5 separate regions of the Homo sapiens genome follow, and all the other regions are linked to region 2. The links are contacts of gene promoters, found by promoter capture Hi-C in human tissues and cell types (Jung and others, 2019). All regions are on one chromosome and are shown on one strand. Each heading gives the region's core, a stretch centred on a gene start or on the middle of the fragment in contact. The rest is flanking DNA. Distances are from core to core; before and after follow the strand shown.

Evidence for each region. The method cuts DNA at HindIII sites, captures the fragments that hold promoters and counts their contacts. A contact is called where the count stands out against the background at its distance.
Region 1: a contact is called between a fragment that was not itself captured here and the fragment with the promoter of OR6B2 in region 2, in 1 of the 25 tissues and cell types used here (dorsolateral prefrontal cortex).
Region 3: a contact is called between a fragment that was not itself captured here and the fragment with the promoter of OR6B2 in region 2, in 1 of the 25 tissues and cell types used here (dorsolateral prefrontal cortex).
Region 4: a fragment that was not itself captured here is called in contact with the fragment with the promoter of OR6B2 in region 2 in 2 of the 25 tissues and cell types used here (dorsolateral prefrontal cortex and mesenchymal stem cells).
Region 5: a contact is called between a fragment that was not itself captured here and the fragment with the promoter of OR6B2 in region 2, in 1 of the 25 tissues and cell types used here (dorsolateral prefrontal cortex).

Annotation. Positions count from the first base shown.
Region 1 is chr2:239,415,349-239,418,448 of GRCh38, forward strand. No RefSeq gene overlaps it. Among named protein-coding and RNA genes, the nearest start is that of HDAC4-AS1, 15 kb to the left of the region's middle. The HindIII fragment of the contact is 3,809 bases long and covers 1-3,100 here.
Region 2 is chr2:240,028,812-240,031,882 of GRCh38, forward strand. OR6B2 (olfactory receptor family 6 subfamily B member 2) reads right to left here and starts at 1,618. Exons shown (of 1, transcript NM_001005853.1): 1 at 680-1,618. The coding sequence starts at 1,618. The coding sequence ends at 680. The HindIII fragment of the contact is 5,539 bases long and covers 695-3,071 here.
Region 3 is chr2:239,321,310-239,324,541 of GRCh38, forward strand. The region is part of intron 2 of HDAC4 (histone deacetylase 4); the gene reads right to left. Among named protein-coding and RNA genes, the nearest start is that of MIR4269, 17 kb to the left of the region's middle. The HindIII fragment of the contact is 9,878 bases long and covers 1-3,232 here.
Region 4 is chr2:239,441,214-239,444,187 of GRCh38, forward strand. No RefSeq gene overlaps it. Among named protein-coding and RNA genes, the nearest start is that of HDAC4-AS1, 41 kb to the left of the region's middle. The HindIII fragment of the contact is 3,080 bases long and covers 1-2,903 here.
Region 5 is chr2:239,345,825-239,348,989 of GRCh38, forward strand. All of the region lies in intron 2 of HDAC4 (histone deacetylase 4), which reads right to left. Among named protein-coding and RNA genes, the nearest start is that of MIR2467, 4.4 kb to the right of the region's middle. The HindIII fragment of the contact is 7,160 bases long and covers 1-3,165 here.

The DNA.
Region 1 (3,100 bases), core at 131-2,630, 610 kb before region 2:
CAAATAACTGATGGTATACACCAAATTTCATCAATTCTGAAACATGCATTTTTTCACATTTTTAACATCTCAGAAATCAAATATGTCTTAAAATTAACTGTGTCATAGTTTCGTGTCGTAGATCAATTGGCAGCACTTTCTGTTTCCTCATAGCACATAAAATAATGGTGCATCTTCTACTTGATGGCATCTCGGATTCAATTAAATGAATACCATATCCATGGATGGAAAAGCTGAAAATTGTAAAAAATGATGATTCTCTTCAATGCATTTTAAAACCTCAATGCAATTTTTGGCAAATCACTTCTGAAAATCATTAAATAGCAAAGAGCTGAGAATAGGCAAGGCAATTTTGATAAATAACACAGTGGTGGAGGGGAGGTGTTTTACCCAAATGTCAAGATCTATTCTAAGCTTTAGGAATTGTGCCACATGGCCTTGGCACAGGAATAGACAAATACAGCGGCATAACAGAACAGGGTCCAGGCAGCAGCACATGTATGTATGGAAACTTGATCTATGACAGAGATTGCATTACGGAGCAGAGGAGAAAGACGACTAAATCATTGATACTTGGACAATGGGTTCTCCATATTAAACAAAAGAAAAATAAAATTACATTTCACATCAAACACATAAACTTGGCAGAAAAATAGTCTATATACGAAAAAGTAAAACTTCAGAGTCTTAGAAGGAAATGGGGTAGGAATAGTTTTATGTCCCATGAAAAGATTTCTTTCATAGCACACAGAAGCCAGAAGCCATGAAGGAAAATATTAATAAATTTGACATCACTGTTCAATATCATTAGCCATTGGGGAAATGCAAATTCAAACCACAATGCGCTGCCACTTCACATCTATCTGCTGGGCTGAAAGAAAACACAGTGGAGACTATGAGGCTGATGGGGATGCAGAACAACTGCAACTCTCACGTCTGGCTGATGGGAATGCAAAGTGGTGCAGCCAATGCAAAAAAAAGGCGTCTTGTTGCGTTGCAGTTTTTTCCCATTGGTAAACATCCACCTACCATATATATGATCCAGTGATATGGTTTGGCTGTGTCCCCACCCAAATCTCATCTTGAATTATACCGCCCACAATTTCCATGTGTTGTGGGAGGGACCCATGGGAGGTAATTGAATCATGGGGGTGGATCTTTCCCATGCTGTTTTTGTGATAGTGAGTAAGTGTCATGAGATCTGATGGTTTTGTTTTTTTGTTTTTTGGTGTTTTTTTCCGTATATGTGTGTGTGACAGAGTTTTGCTCTTGTTGCCCAGGCTGGAGTGCAATGGCACGATCTTGGCTCACCACAACTTCTGCCTCCTGGGTTCAAGCGATTCTCTCAGCCTCCTGAGTAGCTAGGATTACAGGCATGCGCCACCATGCCCAGGTAATTTTGCATTTTTAGTAGAGATGGGGTTTCTCCATGTTGGTCAGGCTGGTCTCAAACTCCCAACCTCAGGTGATCTGCCCACCTCGGCCTCCCAAAGTTTTGGGATTACAGGCATGAGCCACCACACCCGGCCGACCTGATGGTTTTATAAAGGGGAGTTTCCCTGCACAAGCGCCCTTCTTTTGTCTGCTGCCATGTAACACATGCCTTTCACCTTCCGAGATGATTGTGAGGCCTCCCCAGCCACATGCAACTGTGAGTCCATTAAACCTCTTTTTCCTTATAAATTACCCAGTCTTGGATAGGACTAATACACCCAGCAATCCTGTTCCTCAGTATTTACCCTAGAGAAATGAAAACATGTGCTCCACAAAAATCTATATGAAAATGTCTATCATAGTTTTATTCATAATAGCCACAAACTGGAAACAACCCTAAGGTCTTTCAGTGACTGAGTGGATAAACGGAGTGGTCCATCCATGCAACGGAACACTACACAACAAAGAGGAATAAACGATTTTGGATACATATGATAACAAGCACGGACACATGTGGTCATTAACTCTTCTACTTCTCTCTAAGCTTGGAATATTTAACATTGGTATCCAAAATAAAATACACACATACATACATAATAAATGTGGAGGACAGTTCCAAGATCAGAATCTTTCTCTTTCAAGATTGTGTTAGTATTCAAACAGCCAGTGGTTTACCCAGTGCCCACCTTCCACAGTGGTCAAGCAACTCTGACGCCTCCTCTCTTTTCCACTGATGAACTTTCTCACCTCACACAGTTCGTGACCCTCAACAAATTATGTCGAAAGGACAACTTCACTTCTGTGATCTGGAAAAGACAAAAATTCTATGTTATTTCTTTTTTTCTTCTTTTTTTTTTTTTTTTTTTTTTTGAGACAGAGTCTCGCTCTGTCACCCAGCCTGGAGTGCAGGGGTGCAATATCGGTTCACTGCAATTCTCCTGCCTCAGCCTCCCAAGTAGCTGGAATTACAGGCGTGCACCACTACACCTGGCTAATTTTTGTATTTTTGGTAGAGACGGGGTTTCACCATGTTGGCCAGGCTGATCTTGAACTCCTGACCTCGCGTGATCCACCCGCCTTGGTCTCCCAAAGTGCTGGGATTACAGGCGTGAGCCACGGCGCCCGGCCAAATTCTATGTTATTTCTTAATCGTGTTTAGAAGCATTGCCAGTTGCACAATTGAAACTCATAAAATTTCCTTGGGTATCAGTCTTAAGAATTAAATTCTGTGGAGACTATTGAAGTCAATTATTTTTGCATGAAAATCAAATTACATTTTTCACTAACAAGTAGTTTCTAGGACACAAAAGAAATTCCAAACTGTCATAATGAAAATTGGAATAAATGTGTATAAGGGTGGGCAAATAGTTAACGTTACTTTTCAAGTGCACACGATGCTCTAAATTCATTTTGTTGAGGAAGAAGGCACTTAATATGAGAAATCATGTTTCATCAGGATTTCACTTTTAAGTGGAAATATTATTTGTTATTCCTTGACTTTTTTTTAGCGTTAGATGATTAAAAGCCCCGCATGATCATAATTTAAACATCTGAGCAGTGACTGTGTGTGCGGGCACTGAGGCAAGCCCACGGCAACCCTTGCAAGCCCCCTGAGAGGCAGGTGCTCCTGGTATCACATCGTACAAGCACAAGAAGACTTGGGGAA
Region 2 (3,071 bases), core at 368-2,867:
CATAAGATTATGACATTATATTTTGACTTACCTTATCTGTGTTTAGATGCATAAATTATGGATGAGCACAGTGGCTCACACCTGCTGGGACAGGTGGGACAGGGTTTCACCCAGCATAATGTATTATGTATATATAATACACAATACAGTATATGCATTATCCCAGTATATGTATTATCCCAGTATGAATGTATTATGCATTGTGTATTATACAGTATAAATGTATTATTTATTATGAATATTGGATAGCAATGAGAATGCATGAATTATTGTTACATGCAAAAACATCAAGGATTCACTCAAGCAACACGGTGAATGAAAGAAGCTGAACATAACAGGGCACATACTTTATGTGTAAGCCCCTCAGAAACACCAATGCTAGCATCTGGTTTTGGAAGTCAGGACAGTGCTTTTTGTGGAGAAGGGTTAATGACTGGGAGAGGGCGTGAAGGCAGCTTCTAGTTCTTGATCTGGGAGCTGGTTCCATGAGCACAGTCCTTTTGTGAAAACATATGCAGACGAAGGCTTGTTACTTGTGCACAGTTGTGTAGGTTTGTTAAATTTCACTTAGTTCTGTAGGTTTGTTAAATTTAACTTAAAAATTAATTTAAAGAGCACAAAGTGCCACATACAATGTTGTTTCATCACTACAGATTTTACTCTAGGACATTTAGTTGTCTTAGTGTGAAGTTTGACCCAAGCCCAAGGCCTTTTTCAAGGCGTCCTTAAATTCCTTGTTCCTCAGGCAGTAAATCAAAGGGTTAATTATTGGCGTGACAACAGTGTACACGGCAGAGATGAGCTTGTTGGAGCTCTGGGAATCAATGGCTTGGGGCCGGACATACATGAAAAGCAAGGCTGTATAGAAGACGGTGACCACGGTGAGGTGAGAGGCGCAGGTAGAGAAGGCTCTCCAGCAGCCGGTGGCCGAGGGGATGCGCAGGACAGCCAGGGTGATGTGCCAATATGACAGTATGGTGGCCAGGAGCGGAAACACCAGGATGATGAAGGCCAGGATGAAATCCACCAGCTCTGCAGTGGAGAAGTCCGTGCAGGCCAGCTTGAGGATGGGGGAAATGTCACAGAAGAAGTGGTTCAAGACGTTGGAGCCACAGAACGTGACGCTGGAGATAAAACAGACCTTGATCATGGAGATGGTGAAGCCACTCACAAAGGAGAAGCCCACCAGCTGGAGGCACAGCCCCGGGGTCACAAGGACGTGGTAGCGCAGCGGGTGGCAGATGGCCACGTAGCGGTCGTAGGCCATGGAGGCCAGAAGCACACACTCGGTGCACACCAGGGAGCTGAAGAAGTAGAGCTGCGTCATGCACCCGACGAAAGAGATGCGTTTCTGCTGGAGGAGGAAGCCCTCCAGCATCTTGGGGGTGATGTCAGACACGTACCAGATCTCCAGGAAAGACATGGAGCTCAGAAAGTAGTACATGGGCCTGTGGAGGGAGGTGCTGCTCCAGACGATGAGGATGATGGCCAGGTTCTCCACCAGGACAAAGAGGTAGGTGAGCAGGAAGAGGAGGAAGAGCAGGTACTGCAGCCCTGGGGCCGTGGGGAGGCCCACCAGGATGAAGGTGCTGACCTTGGTGACATTCTCCCCACTCATGCCTCTGTGCTTGGGAGCTGCAGGCCTACAAAACATCAAAGAGCAAGAGGAAAGGGCTGCAGGGCAGCTGAGGCAGAGAGAGAGTGGAGCTGGACTTGGATGGGGAGTTTTGGTGCAAAGAGAGGCCACGTGGCTCCCCAGAGCACCAGGAGAGAGCAGTGATCTGCTGATCTTCTGAGTTTTAAAGTAGAAAACTTCTGTGTGCTTGCATTTACATATAACCATGAAGTAGGAATGAGGAAGAGAGTATATGCTGAGGAACAGAGCCGGGCAGCTCCAGGGTGGGCAAAACCCAAAGCTCTGAGTCCAGGGGCACTACCAGTCCACACGTGCCTGGGGCAGCTCTCAAGATCCAAGTGGGCATGGACACAGAGCTGGCCCTCCTTAGGGTCCTTCATCTGAGGGTTCCTGCAAGTCGGGGCAGCAGCCTCGGCATGAGGTGAGGGGCTATCAGCCTACCAGGGCAGAACCCCAAACTGGGCTAACCAGCCGGAGGAATGCAGGGAGGGCTCCCAGGAAAGGGCTGCCTGGCTCTGGGGGACCTGGTCCACAGGTGGGGGAGAGAGAGGGTAGCCACAGCCCCTTGCCCCACAGGGCATCTGGTGGTTCTTTTCATTGGCAGTCTAGGTGGGTTGAATGGCAGACTTCCACCAGCTCACAGCTGGGGAGGGTGACCCCAGGTTTCTGGCCCAGGATGCTAAAAATTGATGAGAAGACTAGGAGAGGGCCAGGTGGGTGCCGAATAATCTGGAGTCTGTGCTGGGGAGGCGTGGTGCGCGGCACTTACTGGAGAGCCTCATGGTGACGTGTAGGGGGTTGGCTAGACAAGTCGAGTTCATGGAAGAGTTGCAGGCTGAAAAACAAACTTCTAGAAGGGAATTGCCCAGGGACAGGTTTACACTTGGAAACGCACCTGTACTCCTGCCGTCTAGGGTGAGCATTCTGTGGGAACCCAAGATCATCCACTGGGGCGGCATGGCCATTCCCTGCCTTAAAATGCCAGCGTGCAGTTCAGAGTTTAGGATCAATTTCACAAGCATTTACTACTCACTCCAGTCACCGCCTACTGTCTCCCCAAAACAAAAGCAATAAGAACCCCTGCCATTAAAGGGGTCTCAAGATGTGAGTCTGAATGTAGCCTCTCTAGACACCATCCAGGGTGGTGACTGTGTCCTCTTCCCAGCTGAGTGGCCACAGGGGGCTTTAAAGTCCACAAGGAGGAAAGTTGGGGTCCACAGGAGCTCCTTGGAAGGCCAGCAGCCCCCACCTGTTGACTGGGTTTGCTGGGGAGAGCTGGCGGTGGGGGTAGTGAGCTTTGGTTCTTGTGCTTTTAACCCAGAACAGTAGAGGCACCTATAGATTTCTCTTGATTATTTGGATAGTGGTAACTGATCATTAGTGAGTTGGCTAGTTAATACCGGATTGATTCATTAAATTGAAACTGTGTTACTTT
Region 3 (3,232 bases), core at 627-3,126, 710 kb before region 2:
AAAAAATTAGCCGGGCGTGGTGGCGGGCGCCTGTAGTCCCAGCTACTCAGGAGGCTGAGGCAGGACAATGGTGTGAACCCGGGAGACGGAGCTTGCAGCGAGCCGAGATAGCGCCACTGCACTCCAGCCTGGGTGAAAGAGCAAGACTCCGTCTCAAAAAAAAAAAAAAAAAAAAAAAAAAAGGTTAGCTTACATTTTTCTGTGTTTTGAGCCAATCTTAAATAAGGTGAACGTGTGTAAATGTTGGAAAAATATTACATTATCCCTGAAGGAGTAGCAGCTTTCAACAATTACCTAACTGGGTCCTTTGTGGGGTTCTCAGAAGTTCTTCCTTTTAGTGACAACCAACTCATGCTGCTTCCTGTCAGAGTACAGGATGCTTTTCTTCTAAGGTCTGACATTTTATAGTTACTTGCTCTGGCCCAGTCAAAGCCCTCCAAAGCCCTGCCATAGAGCACAGAACATCACAGCTCCCGCCCACACCAGGACTTCCCCTAGACACTGGCTTCATCATTCTCAGGGCAGCATCTATCCCTGATGGCACATCCGGTTGTTAAGGGGGAGGGTCTTCACTGCGAGTCGTCCAGGTTCTTGACATGTTGAACAAAGAATTGGACAAAACACACAAACAAAGCAATGAAAGAATGAAGCAACGAAAGCACAGATTTGTTTAAGCGGAAGTACACTCCACAGAGCAGGAGCAAGCTCCAGAGCAAGCTGCTCAAGACTCCCACTTGCAAAATCTTCTGGGGGTTAAGTACCCTTTAGAGGTTTCCTACTGGTTACACCCTATGTAAATGAAGACTTGGCTCATGACCAATCAGAGGCCAAAGTGAAGTTACACCCTATGCGAATGAAGACTTGGCCTGCAACCAATCAGGGGCTGAAGTGAAAGCTCAGCCTGCAACCAATCGGATGCTGAAGTGAAGGCCCCCTGTCTCCAGATCCTATTCTACTGCCTTGCAATGACAAGTTTAGGGGAGTAAAGCCTTACACTTCAGAGCGCAAGCTCACTGGTTAAGAGTCAGTTGCTTGGCACAGCCCCTTGGGCCAGTGACTTCCTTTCTCAATGCCTCTGTTTTCTCATCTGTAAAATACAGATGATGTAAGGTTAGTAGGACCCATCCGTAGGCTGTTGTGGGGATCACAGCTGTAAATATGTAGAAAACACTTAGCAAAGTGCCTGTGCAGGGCAGACTCCATCACTGCCAGCCATATTTACCATTATGTAGTTGTTTATTTACCCATCTACTGTTTGACTTTCCCACTGGCACTGGGTGTGGCAATGGGTGGGGGCTTTTCCTGTGTGGTTCACCAGTAGACCCCAGTGCTTACAGCAGCCTGGCATGTAGCAGATGCTCACAAGAGGTGTCTTGACTGGCTGAGTGCTGGTGTGTGGACGGGAACCAGCCTAAGGAAAGCACTCTTGAGACTCTTCATCCTGCCCGGGTGTGGGTAGCCTGGGTCTGTCACTCGGCCCCACACCCGGGGCCCCACTCCTGGCTTCGATAAGCGACGTCACCAATGTCTGCCCCAGCACCTGGACAGACTCTTGTGGCCCTTCCTTCTCGGGAAGCCCAGAAAGAACTGCAGTGACTGAGACAAACCCAGCGCTGCTGCGGGGTGTGTGGAGGCATCTTGCCATAGTGGGTGGGGTGCACGTGCCACAAACGGCTCACTCTTGATGATGAGGGTGACTCACGCATCCCCTTGTCCCCACAGTTCTGTTTCTTGGACTTTATCCTAACAAAACAATCATGATAAGAACAACCAGCCCCAAACATAAAGACACATGTGCAACAATGCTCGCTGAGGTGTTATTTACTATACAAAAAATTTAAGTCCCATTAACAGAGGATTTTTAAATACTGAAATATTACGGAGCTACAAAAAAATCCCATTGCTGTTCTATCGTGTATGTAATAGGTACAGGTATGGACATGGGGAGACAAAGAGGGAAAGAGAGAAAAAGAGAGAGAGCTCCTGCTTGAGAATCTACAAAATGTCACCTGTGACTTTCTCTGAACTGTGTGCCTCCCAGCTAAATGTGGTCTGGCAGGGTAAAGAGAGCATTTTCCTTTCTTTCATCTTTCAGCATTGTTGGATGTTAAGTAAAGAAAAGACTACATCTTAACTTTTGAAACTGGGGAAGGGGAGTATTTTCCCATTTATTTAATAAACTGCTTTCATCCAACAAAATCAAAGCAATAAATGGGGCAGATCCTCGGAGAGCCTGTGTGTGGAAGGCACTGTGCAGTGCTAGGTGAGAGAGGAGGCGTCTGGGAGCTCAGGCCACGCCCTCCAAGAACCCGCGGCCAACGACTTAGGTGTGTGCGCCTGGAAAGTGCTTCTTCACGTGTGGACATGGGAGAGGTAATGCTGAATTCATGTCTCCGCCCAATCTGGATTTAAGGAGGAAGATGCCGGTGAGAGCTCAAAAAGCATCCCCTGTCACGGGGCCCCGGGGCAGCCAATCACACACACCTGGGGGCCTGCACAGGGAAAAAACGCTGCCACTCAAGCAGGCAGAAGCGCCACAAAAACATTCATTTTTATTTTTTCTAAAAAAAGACAAGAACATCCATTGCTGTTGAAATATTTAACTTAAAAAAGAAACAGTGCAAATTTCAGAATGAAATATATCCTCTATTGCTTCCCCTAGAATCCAGGCCACAGAAAGTGCATCTGAACGGGACCACATGCGCTACGGTATGCACTGATGAAACACTGACAAAGGCTGGTGTAACTTTTAAAATGCGAAGGATTAGCACAATTGAAGGTGTGAAACTAGAAGGCAGCTGAAAAAATTAAAAAGTAACTAACGCACATAAATAAGAAATCTGGGGTCTCTGGAAAATATTTTCAAACATAGAGTACTTGGACAATCCTGAATTTGAAACCCAAATTGGACACGCAAAGGCAAAAATGTAGCCACAATTAGCTGAAAGAAACACAGCCCTGAGCCATCCTACAAGAAAACCAATCCTGCCACAACTCACCAGTGCGAACTTAACATGGAGAAAGAGGTCCTCACCGCACAGTATCCTGAACAGAAAGGCTGGTGAGAGTGAAAATTAAAAGCCAAGAGAACAATAGCAATTTTTAAACTCCTTCAGATAAAGTAAATAAATCCTACTCCCTGTAAAGCCTATTGCCATTATGTGTTTGCTCTCCAGGGGCCAAGCAAAGCCAAAGTGCCTGCGTGGCATGCTGTGGCTTCCTGCTCAGCAGC
Region 4 (2,974 bases), core at 114-2,613, 590 kb before region 2:
CTCCCCAGGGAGGGGCATGACAACCTATTTTTAAAGGCTCAAGTGGAAAAGTCCTTTTGCAGCTGTGAAAACACCCTCAGGGGTCAGCCCCCCCACCTCCCTGCCCCCCAAGGCTCTGTTAACCGCAATGGGGATGTGGTCTCCTTGATACGGGTTCGTGCCACGGTTCTAGGGCAGCAGGGAGGGAGGGAGGCCGGTGTTTACTGCTCTTCCTTGGGAGAGACCGAGGTGGAAACATGACGGAGAAGCGTAAAACCTGGAGAGATTTCTACGTCCTCCAGTGGGTCATTGAATGTTCTCAGGCTTCAGTGACAGCCCTTCCCTTTCATTTTTCTAAACGCGAGTGCATTCGTAGCGGCACTGAGAAGCTGAGATGTCTGATGCTGACTCCTGCTCGCAGGAAGAGATGGCTCTTTTGTTTCATACATTTGCAGCACGGCCCTCGTAAGAGCGGGCCTTTACTGGAAAACTGGACACATGTCATCTGGGGCTGTGAACACATATCCATAGTAAGTTGAAATCCAAAGGAGACCTTGGATCGTTGCATTTTGGTTCAGAACATCTGGAAGGCTCCACTGCTAAATTTTCTAAACTATAAACTGCCATGACATGGAGCCTCATCATAGCCTCAGCCAGTTCCCCAGGATTACACTCTGGGAGGGCAGAGTGTAATTTGCAGAGCATCTCCACATGCATCTTTTCTCTCAGTCCCCTGGGTGCTGGGGGAGGGATTTGTTGTGGCCGGCATGATCCTATTTTACACAGGAAGAAACAGACACCCAGAGGGTTTTTGGAAATGCCCAAGAACCCTCATTTCTGCAAGTCAAATTTCACCCCAGATACAAAGAGGCACCTCATGGTGACAGGGAAAAGCATCTAAAGAGAATTTCCTTCTTGTTCCTGGGCGTGAGTGTGAAAATGGGTTCTGCTAGCTTTTGTGCACGTCTGTGGTTATTTTAATGAATAGCTGTGTAAACATTATTCTTTTTGCAATTTTCTTCAGCAAGTTGTGACTGCAGGCTCCCTCTTCCCTGATGCCCAGAGGGAGCACAGTTCGATTTAAGGACCGGGCAAATGGATGTCATCCGTGTACTCCACCCATTCCTGCCCCAAAAGGCCAACTTTCCGTTGACCATTATTTTGGATTATCTGAGTTTTGGCGCTTCTCTGGCAAGTCACTGTGTATCTCTGAGCCTCAGGCTCCCCTCTGTGCACAGGGAGAGTGCCAGGAGGGTCCTTGCCCCCAGGGCATGGGGATTAAATGAGCTACTGCACACGCAGTGCTCACCTCAGTTCCCGGCACATTTGTGTTATGAGATGGAGTGCACAGAAACAAAGGAGTAAAGATGGAGAGGCCCAGGAGACAGAAGGCAGCACAGCTGCCTGAGTGAGGCTAAACATGAGCCCCGGCAGGCAGCGTGGGCACAGAGAGAGCACGAGACAGGACGCTCCATACCCAAATCAAGGCTCCAAAGCTTTGGGTCAGAGGCATCTTGCCCTGGAGCCAGAGGTTGCTGGCAAATGTTTATCAACCAGTTGTGTGGGGTGGGGGTGGGGGACGCTTTCATCTGTAGCATCTGCCCATGTCTCTGGTGTAAATATTCCCATTGTAGCAGATGTCAAGCTACTGATATGATGCCACTGAAAGCAGAGATGGGAAGATGCATTGTCAGCTTTTGGGAACCCAAGTGAACTCCATGACAGCACTGAAAAGGCATCTGACACCAGAGCTGGGCCCAGGGTAGAGTCCACTAAGCCTTCACAGTCCTCATCTCACATGATCCCCTCAATAGCCCACACATGAGGGGCTCCTGGGCAAGGGAACAAGCGGGCTCCAGCACACCACTGCCTAGAGTGCATCATGGTTTGAATGCTGGATGTGAACAGAGAGGGAAGTGGCTTTTCTTTCACCTGCCTCCTGGGTCACAGCAGCTCCAGGCACTGGCAGATGCAATCACGGCATCATGGCGTGGAAGGTGCTATAGAAACCATTTTGTTTCATCTCTCGGTCAAAGCAGGGATCTCTTTTCAAAGAGACACTCTTGGGAGGTGGTCCCCCAGCTCTCTGCCTTCCACAGGACCCTGGCATTGCTGGGCAGTTTGATTCCTTGGAGAAGTGTCTCTGTATTGAGCTGAAGTCAGTCTCTTGTCGCTTCCACCTTCCACCACGGCTTGGTCATCGGCGGTTCCTCCTGCATCTCCTGTGTGAACACCAGCCTGTGTCTGACCCCAGCTCTCATGGGCCCAGGTTTTCTCTCTTCCCGCTCAACTTGGCCAGTCCTAGTCAAGAGCCATGGCCCCCAGTTCTTTCCTGTTGGAGCTTCAGAAGTCTCTTCAGAGCATCATCCTAAGTCAATAAGTGTCCTCAGGACTGAGAAGAAGGTGTCTTTGGGGCACTGTTAATTAACATTTCAAAATCACATTCCCAAATCTAAATGAATTCCTCTACATACACAGATAAACAACCAGGACAACTTTTACAACCCTACAAAAGTGTACTAAAAGAGTATGATTTTTTGTATTAAAAGAGAGCTCTAAGAATTTTCCATAATACAGACCAGCGGCTGCCTCCATCCTGCCCACTCACCCCTTAGCCCTTTGCCTGCTGCCATTTCACCCTTTTGGCGGCCTTGGGACCCTGCCCCTGATGTCCTCTGCCTGACTTTCTGGGCTCCGCTGTTCCAGCTTTTCATTCCCCTTTGCCCTAATTGCAGCCTTTGGCCTAGTATCACCTGCCCAGAGCTCCTTGTTGTCAGGTTCAGCTGCCTTCTTGGTCTGGAGGCCTCTTACTTGCAATTGTTCAAGGCTGTGCCCGAAAGGGAGCTCTTTCAGAAGCTGTCCTTGTTTGCTCCAACCTCCGGCAGCTCTGAGAGCCCTTCTGCACTCACAGGCTACACCACTCTGCTGACTTTCAGGCTACACCACTCCGCTGACTTTCAGGCTACAAGCTGTCCTTGCCGCTTCTCGAGTCGGG
Region 5 (3,165 bases), core at 521-3,020, 680 kb before region 2:
ACACACCCCCGTCTCACACACATGCACTCAAACACACACACCCTAACACACATACACACCGTCTAAAACACACACACACCCCCATCTCACACACGTGCACTCACTCTAACAAACACACACATCCTAACACACATACACACCGTCTGAAACACATATACCACCGTCTCACACACTTGCACTCACTCTCACACACACATCCTAACACACATACACACCGTCTGAAACACACACACCCCCATCTCACACATGCACTCACCCAACACACACACACCCTAACACACATACACACCGTCTGAAACACACACACCCCCATCTCACACATGCACTCACCCAACACACACTGTCTAAAACACACACACCCTGTCTAAAACACACATACATACCTTAACACACACATATCCTGTCTAAAACACACACCCATACTTTAATACACAGACACCCACACCCTAACACACATACCACACCCTAAAACACAAACACACCCTAACACACACGCATACAGACCATACACACCCGTCTAAAACACACATACACACATCTTAACACACATCCTGTCTAGAACACACACCCATACTTTTAACACATAGTCTAGGACACACACACCCTGTTTAAAACACACATACATACCTTAACACACATCCTGTCCAAAACACACACCCATACTTTAACACACAGTCTAAGACACACACACCCTAACACATACCACACCCTAAAACACACAAACACACCTTCACACACACACACACACACACAGACCATAACACACACACCTGTCTAAAACACACATACACACCTTAACACACACACACTCTGTCTAAAACACACACCCATATCTTAATACAGTCTAAAACACACACACTGTCTAAAACACACACCCTAACACACACATACCCTAACACACACGCTCTAAAACACACCCTGACACACACACCCTGTCTAAACACACACCCTAACACATACACCGTCTCACACACACACACCCTGTCTAAAACACACACACACCACCTAACACACACACCCTGTCTCACACACACCCTATCTAAAACACACACACCCTAACACACACACCCTGTCTCTCACACACACACCCTGTCTAAAACACACACACACCCTAACACATACACATTGTGTCTAAAACACACACACGCACCCTAACACACACACCCTGTCTAAAACACACACCCCATCACACGCACACACCCTAACACACATACACCCTGATTCACACACATACAACCTGTCTAAAACACACACCCTAACACACACTCTAACACACACATACACACAGACACTTTGTGGTATTCCTGAGACATTCAACCACTGCAGAGCATTATTTAAATGCCATAAAAATGCATCTTTATGGATCATTTCTATATTAAAATATAATAATCTTGGCGGCCACAATAGTTAAAATAAACAGATTCAAGATCAAATAAAGTTAGAGCAGAACATGAGGACTGGAAGCAATCCCAGAGGAGAGCCTTCTCCCTGGACTCACAGGGTTAACACTCAACAGTGGTCTGAAGCAACTGTATTACCATGAACTCACTCATCACCAAGTCATTGTGGACAGAGACTTTTTAGCTGCTTTTATGTGGATGGGGGTAGCTCAGACTGAACAGAATATTAAGAAATCATAGAATGGCCCAAATGAACACACTGATCTTAAGTTACACACGTTTCCCACAAAATCCTTTTTTTTTGTTTTGAGACAACAGTCTTGCTCTGTCGGCCAGGCTACAGTGCAGTGGCACCATCTCGGCTCACTGCAACCTCACCTCCCGGATTCAAGCGATTCTCCTGCCTCAGCCTCCCGAGTAGCTGGGACTACAGGCGCGTGCCACCACGCCTGGCTAATTTTTGTGTTTTTAGTAGAGACGGGGTTTGACCATGCTGACCAGGCTGATCGCGAACTCCTGACCTCAAATGATCTGCCCACCTCGGCCTCTCAAAGCACGAGGATTACAGGTTTGAGCCACCGCACCCGGCCACTTATTTTGTTTTGAACTAAACATTATCCGTACCTCGCACCAAGATTCCAGGAGCGAGAGGATGCTCAAGTTACCGACCACTGCCTGCTCAACCAGCTTCCTATCGAGAGCATCATCCCGGTGACCATAGACACGTCCCAGCAAATCCACGTCCCAGCAAATGCACTGCTTCCTATCGAGAGCATCATCCCGGTGACCACAGACACGTCCCAGCAAATCCACTGCTTCCTATCGAGAGCATCATCCCGGTGACCACAGACACGTCCCAGCAAATCCACTGCTTCCTATCGAGAGCATCATCCCGGTGACCACAGACACGTCCCAGCAAATCCACGTCCCAGCAAATGCACTGCTTCCTATCGAGAGCACCATCCCGCTGACCACAGACACGTCCCAGCAAATCCACGTCCCAGCAAATGCACTGCTTCCTATCGAGAGCACCATCCCGCTGACCACAGACACGTCCCAGCAAATCCACGTCCCAGCAAATCCACTGCGGGGCTCCTTGACACTGAGAACTTTTCTGGGCAAGACTTTCTCTAGGCACGAACATTCCGGAAGGGAAAGTAAATGACACTGGAGGGACGGGGTAGTGTTAAGTGGGTGGCCAAGTAACAACGTCTGCCTTTCCTGCTGGCCAGTCAAGTCACCAGTATCCTAAGCCCTTAACCACAAGGAAAGACAAGGACAGTTACTTGGAGAACTGTCCTTGGAGGAAAACAAGGGAATGGGAGAAAAAAAAGGAGGCGTAGCTTGTCCTGCCAGCAGGCCCCCGTGGGCTTTCCGTCCACACTCCCGGTTTCATGCCAGGGACTCTGGCTTCAAGGCAGAGGCTCTGTGTCCTGACAAACGCATCCTGCCCTGCCACAGCGCATCCCCTCAGGGAGGGTGTGGAGGGCTGGCCGGGCAAGGGGCGTAAGGCTCCAGGGCCTCCTTTCAAAGGAGAGCCCTTCCAGGCTAAGTCAATCCAGGTTCTTCCCTCAGGCCGCTCACATCATTAGAAATCGTTCTTTAGAGCAATAAAATCCCAACAGTTAAGCAGCTTTGACGTCAGAGAACCAGGGCCTGGCTCTGGCAAAGTTCAGCGGGAACAGCAATAAAACCGTAACACAAAACTCACCCAGCAGCAGAGGACTTTCACAGAACACAGGAGAGGAAAGCCACACACACTGCA